2 separate regions of the Homo sapiens genome follow, and region 2 is linked to region 1. Evidence: promoter capture Hi-C in human tissues and cell types (Jung and others, 2019). All regions are on one chromosome and are shown on one strand. Each heading gives the region's core, a stretch centred on a gene start or on the middle of the fragment in contact. The rest is flanking DNA. Distances are from core to core; before and after follow the strand shown. Region 1 holds the start of HELQ (helicase, POLQ like). Region 2 has its middle 25 kb from the start of HNRNPDL.

What was found. Contacts are between HindIII fragments. The study calls those that stand out against the background at their distance.
Region 2: a contact is called between a fragment that was not itself captured here and the fragment with the promoter of HELQ in region 1, in 1 of the 25 tissues and cell types used here (spleen).

Annotation. Positions count from the first base shown.
Region 1 is chr4:83,453,763-83,458,646 of GRCh38, forward strand. It overlaps HELQ (helicase, POLQ like), which reads right to left and starts at 2,061. Exons shown (of 18, transcript NM_133636.5): 1 at 1,635-2,061; 2 at 1-183. The coding sequence starts at 1,931. It overlaps MRPS18C (mitochondrial ribosomal protein S18C), which reads left to right and starts at 2,296. Exons shown (of 6, transcript NM_016067.4): 1 at 2,296-2,415; 2 at 3,147-3,196; 3 at 4,584-4,667. The coding sequence starts at 2,316. RefSeq lists enhancers at 1,309-2,139, 1,568-1,617, 1,958-2,067, 2,054-2,348. The HindIII fragment of the contact is 3,157 bases long and covers 1,054-4,210 here.
Region 2 is chr4:82,403,111-82,407,994 of GRCh38, forward strand. No RefSeq gene overlaps it. Among named protein-coding and RNA genes, the nearest start is that of HNRNPDL, 25 kb to the right of the region's middle. The HindIII fragment of the contact is 5,458 bases long and covers 111-4,884 here.

The sequences.
Region 1 (4,884 bases), core at 811-3,310:
AGTAATGCTGAGTTTGTTTTTGATACTTTCCGAGCAAAGATTTTCAGTGGCAAAGTCTGTAGCATGTTTCTTATGTTCAGGGAGTTGCATATATTTTTGTTCCAGGTCGTCAACTTGAGCTATAAAGGAGTTTTCAGTAAAGCTATCATAGTCACCAAACATGTCCACTTCACTGTCATTAGGCTGCAAAGAGAACAAAAACGCTTATGGTCAATTCCAGTTTCATTAAGAATAAAAGCTTCACCAGCCTGGCCAACATGGTCAAACCCCGTGTCTACAGAAAATACAAAAATTAGCCGGGCATAGTGGCATGCTCCTGTAATCCCAGCTACTCGGAGGCTCAGGCAGGAGAATTGCTTGAACCTGGGAAGCGCAGGTTGCGGTAAGCCCAGATCGCGCCATTGCACTCCAACCTGGGCAACAGAGTGGGACTCTGTCTCAAAAAAACCAAAACAAACAAACAAACAAAACCCCCAAAAAACACTTCAGCCTAGGGCTGTACCAAGTATATAATTATATGGTCACATATGGATCACAGACCTATATGTAAATAGATATCTTACAGCTGAAGAAATGGAGGCCCAAAGAGGTTAAATTACTTGCCTAAACAGCAGGTTCAGGAGTGTTACGATGATACTGAGATTCTAATTTTTGAGACAGGGTCTGGCTCTGTCACCCAGGCTGGAGCACAGTGGCTCCAGCCACTGCACGATCACAGCTCACTGCAGTCTTGACATCCTGGGCTCAAGCGATCCTCCTGCCTCAGCCTCCCAAGTAGCTAGGACTACAGGTGCAGGCCACCACACCCGGCTAATTAAGAAAAAAAAATTTTTTTTTTTTTTTGTAGAGACTGGGTCTCTGTTGCCTAGGCTGGTTTTGAACGCGAACTTCTGGGCTTAAGTGATCCTCCCATCTCTGCCTCCTAAAGCACTGGGATTATAGGCATGAGCCACTGCACACGGCCAGATTGTAATTCTTAAAGCTGTACTAAAACAGCAGGAAGACTGGTAGACGTCTACTGAAATGTCAGCGCATTCGAAGTTTCTGATAACTGCAGCGCTTCCCTCCCAGACTACAATCTACAGTGACTGGCCTCTAACAGAAACATGGTTGTACCACTAGACACTCCAAGGAGTTCCTAGGAATTTGGAATTGAGACTGAGAAACTGAATACTGACTTGGAGTGGTCTGCTACACAGAAGACACACAAACCTGGAGGCAGCAATATAGTAAAGTGATTAAGACAACAGGATTTGGAGCAAGAACTGTACTATCTCAACTTTTCAGGGCCTGATTACTGTCGTAAAATCTAGATAATATAACTAGCTTAACATAACGGGTCTTCAATAAACAGCAGATTTTATTTGTACAGTAGGAGCTGCAGTTATCTGGAAGCCTAGATTTGTGTCTCAGTCATGCCACTTAACTGCTGCGTGCACAACTTTTATGTCTCGGGGTTTACATTTCATATTTATATAGAAATGTAAATAACAAGGCAATCAATACCTCCTAAGTGCCGATTAACAGTGGTAACGAAGACGAGAGAAGTAAACGAAGGCGATAAAACTGGTCAACTCTTTGCATCTGGGAAGGATGCCAAAAGTTTGCAGTTTCAAGTTCCAAGTCCTCCGTACCTGGTCTCCCACCCCTCTGTCAGTGGGCATGTGACGTAGGAGGTCCGGGTTTGTATCACCACCTCCAAGGACGAGACATTCCGGGGAATCTGAGAGTAGAAGGGGCTGTACCTCAACCGGCAGTACGCCCGCGGTTTTCCGCCTCCTGTTCTCAGCCACCATTTCCTCCTCCTCTTTCCCCTCATCTCCGGGCACGAGCTCGGCCGCGGTGGGAGCGCCAAAAATACACCCCAAGCTTGGACGGTTCCTTTTGGGGAGAGACACCCGCCGGCGGATGCGGGAACCACATTCATCCATGGCAAGGACCCAGGGCCCTATTCAGACGTCGTTCTCAGTGACCCAGACGCTAAGCCCATATGGAAGGGAGAGTGGGACGCCGGAGCCCGCTTCTACATCCACCTTGGGAAAAGACCCCAAGTTAGCTCTCAGGGCTCGCGGACCGGAAGCACGCATAAACTTCTACCCTGTCCAATCATAAGCCTCACGTGACCTGCCGCGTAGGGAGGGCACGAACAGAAAGGTGCTGCGCATGCGTATTGAAAAACCTCACCTACTCTCGCGGGTCCTCAGCGTTCTCCTGCGGAACCTTTGAACGGGGTACTCGAGCCCACAGGGGAAGAGCAGCGGAAGGGGCCTTTCGGAACGATTTGGAACGAAAGGAAGTGGAAGAAACGCGGAACCATGGCCGCTGTGGTTGCTGTTTGCGGTGGTCTAGGGAGGAAGAAGTTGACACACTTGGTAACGGCTGCTGTCAGCCTTACACATCCCGGGACTCACACGGGTAAAGTCTCCATATCCTATGCTCCATTGTAGCGCTGCAGGCATTAACCTTAGTCCTAATGGTTAGAGTCGTCCCTGTTAGCAAAACGACTCTGGTTTCTAGGCGATTAAGTTTCTCCAAGATGGGTGGGAATCTGTAATTGCCTTTGACTGTTTTAGTGTCGTCTAATCCACTCCTTTAAAGTATTTAAACGTATGAGGAAGTTGGAGTGGTTCTTAAAAAGCAGAGACTTTCCTAAGATCTCTGGATAATCTTAGTGAGGAAGGGACATTTCCAGAGTCGCCCAGCAGCAAATTCCAGATGTCTAAGGTCCCCAAACAGAACAAAATTGCATAATTTTTGCAATTTTATCTTCTCTGTGCTTCTCTATAAATTCTTTCTGGGACGGGTCTGTTACTTTCTTTTTGGTATGACAGTGCCTTTCTGTTGCTTCTCCTATAAGAATTTGCATTAAGAATTTTCTCTAACCATGGAATGAAGGGAAAATAAATGTCAGAAAGAGCAGGTATGGGCGGGAAAATATGTTCTTTTCCCCCTAAGCCCTGGAAAGCACACCCATGTTGAGTCTTACTCTGTCCCAAATATAAAAGTTTTTAACCATTCTGAATATAATACAAAACCTTTCTTTAATATCGTGTCCCTTAATTCATCCTGTCTCCATAAAAACAAAAATCTTTAGCTATTCAGCTAAGAAAAAGAAATGGTTAATTGCTGTTTCTGTTTAATCGCAGTGCTTTGGAGAAGAGGTTGTTCACAACAGGTATCCAGCAATGAGGACCTGGTAAGAATTTTTTTTTCTATTAGTAAGGCCTTTGCAAATATGACCAAAATGTTTTTCTTTTTAAAACGAGATCTGGTATTAGACTCTAACATCTTTTATTTTAGCTACTTGAATAGAGTTCTGCCGTAGGACAAAACAATTTGATAATTACTCTGAGTTCAGAAATGATGATGAATTGATTGTAGTCATGTAGTCAGCTGAGTTTTGAAGTAGGGGAATTCCTAGATTAGAAGCAAAGCTGCTATAATACCATATTTTTCTTCCTAGATCTTAAATTTAAGGATATGTGATTTGGGAATTGTTTTTTTTTTTTTTACATAGCCCTTTGTAAGCAAATGATATGGGAATTTTAAAAGGTAGTTTGGGTGAGCAGAATTTTAGATAACTGAAAAGAGACTGTACAAAGCTTAGCTATAGGTTGGCTATAGTATTAACATGGACTTTCTGAAAGCACAGGTTCTTGCTACATGCAAAGGTATTTTGACACTAATTAGACCATACAAAGCACTTGGCACAGAGCTGAAGAGTAGTTACGTGAGCTGAATGTAAATTGGAAAGTTTGAGGAATTGGAAAAAACAAAAGAACTTGTCTAGTTTCTCTGAGCATCTGTCTTGGTAATCTAATCCATGCACCATACTTTAAGAAAGTAAAGGGACATTATTTCTTTTTTAGTTCATAAATCCCACTTTGTCTCTAATCAAAGTTATGGACCCTCTCCACAGAAAAAGGCACACAGTCCCATTCATTTGAAGTTTTGCATACGATTACAGGGAGTCATGGGCTTCAAAGCCATTTCTAGATTAAGAACCTCTATCCTGGAGACAGCCATACTGACTGTAGGAAGGAGGCACTGTGACAAAAGCATTAGAGGCAGTGGTGGTAACAGAAAAGCCAAAAAGACTGATACAAACTTATATAGTAGCCTGGGGTGATAAAGTCAAAGAACCTTTTATTACAGTAAGTCATGGGCCATTATCTGTGTATAAAAATAGTGATAAAATACTTGATAGAGACATGGGGATGGATAAATTAGGGATTGTACTCATTTAAGAATGGCATATGTTATCTATTGTGTTGTAAGTTTCCTTAAATCTAAAAATTTTTTCATTATCTACAATCTGAGCAAAGCATTGGAACACTTTCTTATCAGACATCATTTTTGTTCTGCCATAAAATTTTATTCTATGAAGATTGTACTTTATTCCAGAATCTTCCCATGCGTTAATCCGTAGGCTAAACTAAAACAAAATAAAGTGCTTATACAAAATATGTACACAGTAAGAAAGGTATAACTAATCCTTTGAATGGATTTGAATGTAGAATAGTAACCTTTTAAAATTCAGAATTAACACATCCTATTATCAGACTTTTCGTTTTTTTCCCTAGCCCATTTCAATGGAAAATCCTTATAAAGAACCTCTTAAGAAATGTATCTTGTGTGGAAAGCATGTAGATTATAAGAATGTACAGGTGAGATCTGGTTTTACTTCACTATATTTTAGGGTTTTGCTTCTGATAGATCTGCTTAAAGAGAATCAAGTCAGTTTATAGCAGGCTTTTGTAGAGGTAACTGTTTTAGCAACTTCATAATTTCAAATTTGGTTATAATTCTATGTATAAGCTTATCTCTGCTTTATTCAAGTAAAAGCACCTTGGCTTTCCCCCACTTACTGTTATTTCCACTCTG
Region 2 (4,884 bases), core at 1,590-4,089, 1.0 Mb before region 1:
TGTGGACTAGATATTTCTAGAGTGCACACATGACAACAAAATGATTTTTTTTAAGTCAATTCACCTTTAAAATTTCTTGAGGGAGGATAGGAGGGAGAAAACAGGAAAAGAAAGTGAGAAGAATCCAGACACAGTGGCATGCACCTGTAGTCCCAGCTACTCAGGAGGCTGAAGCAGGAGGATCGCTTAAGGCCAGGGGTTCGCGGCTGTAGTGTACTGTAATCACACCTGTGGATAGCCACTGCACTCCAGCCTGGGTAACACAGTGCAACTCTGTCTCTTTAAAAAAAAGAAAGAAAAGAAAATAAAAGAAAAAGCAAGAGCCAGCTATAGATACATATACAATTATTGGAGAAAAGCTAATAATCTTTCTGCTCTAAGGAGAGGGAAGAAGTTTAGATATAGAAAAACCCATTTCAGGATACACTTGCACACACACAAGTTGTTACACCTGGTTGAAACAGTAACTTGGGCCCTTGACAATTTTGCCAACTCATAGAATAAAGCAGCCAATATTTATTAAACCCCTAAGAATGGAAATGAAGGATGTTTGGGGAGGGAGGGAGTCTTTCATTAAACTAAATGATCTCTCTTTTAGAAAGATAAGACAAAAAAGAAAAAACATTTAAAAAAGAGAAAAAAAATTTTAATAAAAAAGAAAAAGAATAGAGAAGACAGTACCCTCATGAGACTTGGGTTTTTTTCCTTTTTCATTCTAAGACATGTCTAAAATGAACAATCTTATTTGAGCCAAAGTTCTCCAGAGTAGCCTCTATAATTCACGGTCCTCTGTCAAGTTATGCCAGGAAGTAGTGCAAGTATCTTAGAGGCAAACCACAAGAGGTTGGCTGGTGGTCAAAAATAAAAATATTACTTTTATAAGTAATATAAAAGAAACTGTTTTAAAATAAATTCTCTCTCTTTTTAAAATACAAAACATAAAAGAAAAACTCATGAATTTGGGCCCTAACCCCAAGGATAAATTGCTCTGCCTGCTGACTCAAGAAATCAGCATGACCCTAAGGGACCAAAGAGATAATAAAAGTCCAGTTTCAATGCAAAACCCATGTAATCAAGGACAGAGAGGCCTAATGCAGGGGAGACTCAAGAAGTCTCAGATGCGCATATTATTACCAAGGGTTCTGGTTCACGGCACCGAGGATCTTGGCCATACCTCCATGATACTGTTCCAGCCCAATCAGCCTCAGACCATCAGGGACAAACCTGTAGTTGAAAGAAGTACGGTTTACTGACTTGCTGCAACAAGAGAGACTGCACATCAGAGAAACTATGAGATGTCTCACCAAACAGAAGAAAAGATAAGATAAGGGGCTGGGCATGGTGGCTCAAGCCTATAATCCCAGCACTTTGGGAGGCCAAGAAGGTCTGATCACTTGAGCCCAGGAGTTTGAGACCAGCATAGCAACGTGGTGAAACCCTGTCTCTACAGAAAATACAAAAATATTAGCCTGGTGTGCTGTCATGCGCCTGTGGTCCCAGCTACTCAGGAGGCTGAGGTGGGAGGATCACTTGAGCCCAGGAGGTGGAGGCTGCAGTGAGCTGTAATTGCACCATTGCACTCCAGCCTGGGCTACAGTGAGACCCTATGTCCAAAAAAAAAAAAAAAAAAAAAAAAGATAGGGACTGGGCATGGTGGCTCACACCTGTAATCCCAGCACTTTGGGAGGCCAAGGCAGGCAGATCATGAGGTCAAGAGATCAACACCATCCTGGCCAACATGGTGAAACCCTGTCTCTACTAAAAATACAAAAATTAGCAGGGCATGGTGGCACATGCCTGGAGTCCCAGCTACTCGGGAGGCTGAGGCAGGAGGATCACTTGAACCTGGGAGGCAGAGGCTGCAGTGAGCCCAGATCACACCACTGCACTCCAACCTGTCGACAAGAGGGAGACTCTGTCTCAAAAAAAGAAAAAAAGATAGGATTTGGGGAAGAGAGACATTTAGGTGAAAATTAAATAAAGCAGTATTTTGATAGGATCAAAGCAAAATAGGGTTGTATGTAAAGTGGGACAACATCAGATCTGGACTGCAAAGGAGAACAGGTTCCTGTTTCTTTTCTTTTTCTTTTCTTTTTTTTTTTTTTTTTTGAGACAGAGTGCAGTGGCACAACCTCGGCTCACTGCAGCCTCCGCCTCCTGGACTCAAGCTATCCTCCTGCCTCAGCCTCCTGAGTAGCTGGGACCACAGGTGCCTGCCACCACACCCAGCTAATTTTGTTATTTTTAGTAGAGACGGGGTTTTGCCATGTTGGTCTCGAACTCCTGACCTCAGGTGATCTGCCTGCCCCGGCCCCTCAAAGTGCTGGGATTACAGGGGTGAGCCACCACGCCTGGCCATGGTTCCCGTCTCTTTGGGTACTAGGAAGTTAAGGTGGAATGTTGTTTTCAGAAAGTCCTTCTCTGAAGCTTTGCACCTGGATTGGAAATCAAAGTTGCTTCTTTGTGCCTTAGATGTTCCAAGTAAGAGTGGGATATTTCATTTTTCCTGACATAATTTCCGTGGTTTCTGGTCTATCATTTCAGGGAACTAAGCTTCTCAGTCAGAGACAAAACAGTAGTCACACCAGCAAGGGGGTTGTTTTTATGCTTTACAGCTGCAGCATGTCCTTGAGAGAAACATTATTTCTCTTTAACTTTGCAGCTAACTTTATTTGTATGTGTCCTCCCAGATTCATGCATAGCGGGGCATATTTTTATTTTCTCAGTCCCAGCTAATTTATTTTCTCAGTTTTAAAGCCTGCAGAAATGGGCCAGGCACCGTGGCTCACTCCTGTAATGCCAGTACTTTGGGAGGCTGAGGTGGGCGGATCACTTGAGGTTAGGAGTTCGAGACCAGCCTGGCCGACATGGTGAAACCCTGTCTCTACTAAAAAGACACAATTAGCTGAGCGTGGCGGCAGGTGCCTGTAGTCCCAGCTTCTCAGGAGGCTGAGGCAGGAGAACCGCTGGGACCCGGGAGGCAGAGTTTGCAGTGAGCTGAGATCAAGCCATTGCACTCCAGCCTGGGTGACAGAGCGAGACTGTCTCAAAAAATAAAATAAAATAGCCTGCAGAAATGGTGAGATAGTGTTCTCTCTAACACCATTCAGGACAGAAAGAAAAAAAAGAAAAAGAAAACGAATAAGCATTGAGATTTTATAGATCAACTGGTACATAGATGGTCTTGATAAACTTTTCCACAGGAATCCAAGATAGGGAAAACACCTTTGAACACAATACTGGCATGCAGGTTGATGTACAGAAAAGGGCACAGGCTTTCTAGCCAGTCAGGTTTGAATTCTGTCTCTAACAGGACAAGACATGGGCAAATCATTTGTCCTTGCTGAGGTTTTCATTAACAGATATTCATGGAGCAAGTTACTCTACAAGGCTCTAAACTGGATTTCTCTCATCAGGATTATTGTGAGAATTAAGTATGTTAGCAGGCGAATATATTTAGCACTGTTCCTGTCCCCCAAAATATACTACCCTGAGTTTTGAAATGTAAAGAAAAGTCTGGAGGAGGAGACTGTCGACTCATTGGCGGTCAGGATCCTAACAAATAGGGGCAGAAATGATTGCAGCTTGCACGAGGGGAGCAGGAGTCTAAGGATAATCTTTAAGAACCAGAGACAGCCGGGTGTGGTGGCTCACGCCTGTAATTCCAGCACTTTGGGAGGCCGAGGCAGGCGGATCACGAGGTCAGGAGATCGAGACCATCCTGGCTAACACGGTGAAACCCCGTCTCTACTAAAAATACAAAAAATTAGCCGGGTGTGGTGTCGGGCGCCTGTAGTCCCAGCTACTCAGGAGGCTGAGGCAGGAGAATGGCGTGAACCCGGGAGGCGGAGCTTGCAGTGAGCCGAGATCGCACCACTGCACTCCAGCCTGGGCAACAGAGGGAGACTCCACCACAAAAAAAAAAAAAAAGAACCAGAGACAAGGCCGCGAGCGGTGGCTCACTCCTGTAATCCCAGCACTTTGGGAGGCCAAGGTGAGCGGATCACGAGGTCAGGAGATCGAGACCATCCTGGCCAACACGGTGAAAACCCCGTCTCTACTAAAAGTAGAAAAAAAATTAGCTGGGCGTGATGGCGGGCGCCTGTAGTCCCAGCTACTCGGGAGGCTGAGGCAGGAGAATGGCGTGAACTCGGGAGGCAGAGCTTGCAGTGAGCCAAGATGGCGCCACTGCCCTCCAGCCTGGGCGACAGAGCGACTCCGTCTCAAAAAAAAAAAAAAAAGAACCAGAGACATATGGTATGTTATTTTTCCTAAAATGATCTTTTTCATATATTAATATTTCTGAAATCAGGATACAACTTAAAATCTTTCATGTATATTTAATAGGGTATTTCTTTTTCTTTTTCTTTTTCTTTTTTTTTTTTGAGGTAGAGTCTCCCTCTGTTGCCCAGGCTGGAGTGCAGTGGCGCGATCTCGGCTCACTGCAAGCTCCGCCTCCCAGGTTCACGCAATTCTCCTGCCTCAGCCTCTTGAGTAGCTGGGACAACAGGCGCCTGCCGCCTCGCCCGGCTAATTTTTTGTATATTTAGTAGAGACGGGGTTTCACTGTGTTAGCCAGGATGGTTTCGATCTGCTGACCTCGTGATCTGCCCGCCTCTGCCTCCCTAAGTGCTGGGATTACAGGCGTGAGCCACCGCGCCCGGCCTAAAAATTTTTTTTTGAGACAAGGTATTGCTTTGTTGCCCAGGCTGAAGTCCATTGATGTGGTCATGGCTCACTGCAGCTCGACCTCGTGGGCTGAAGCTATCCTCCTGCCTTAGCCTCCAGAGTAGCTGAGACTACAGGCACACACCACACACTGAGGCGGGCAGAGGCTGAGGCAGGAGGATTGCTTGAGCCCAGGAGTTTGCAGCTGCAATGAGT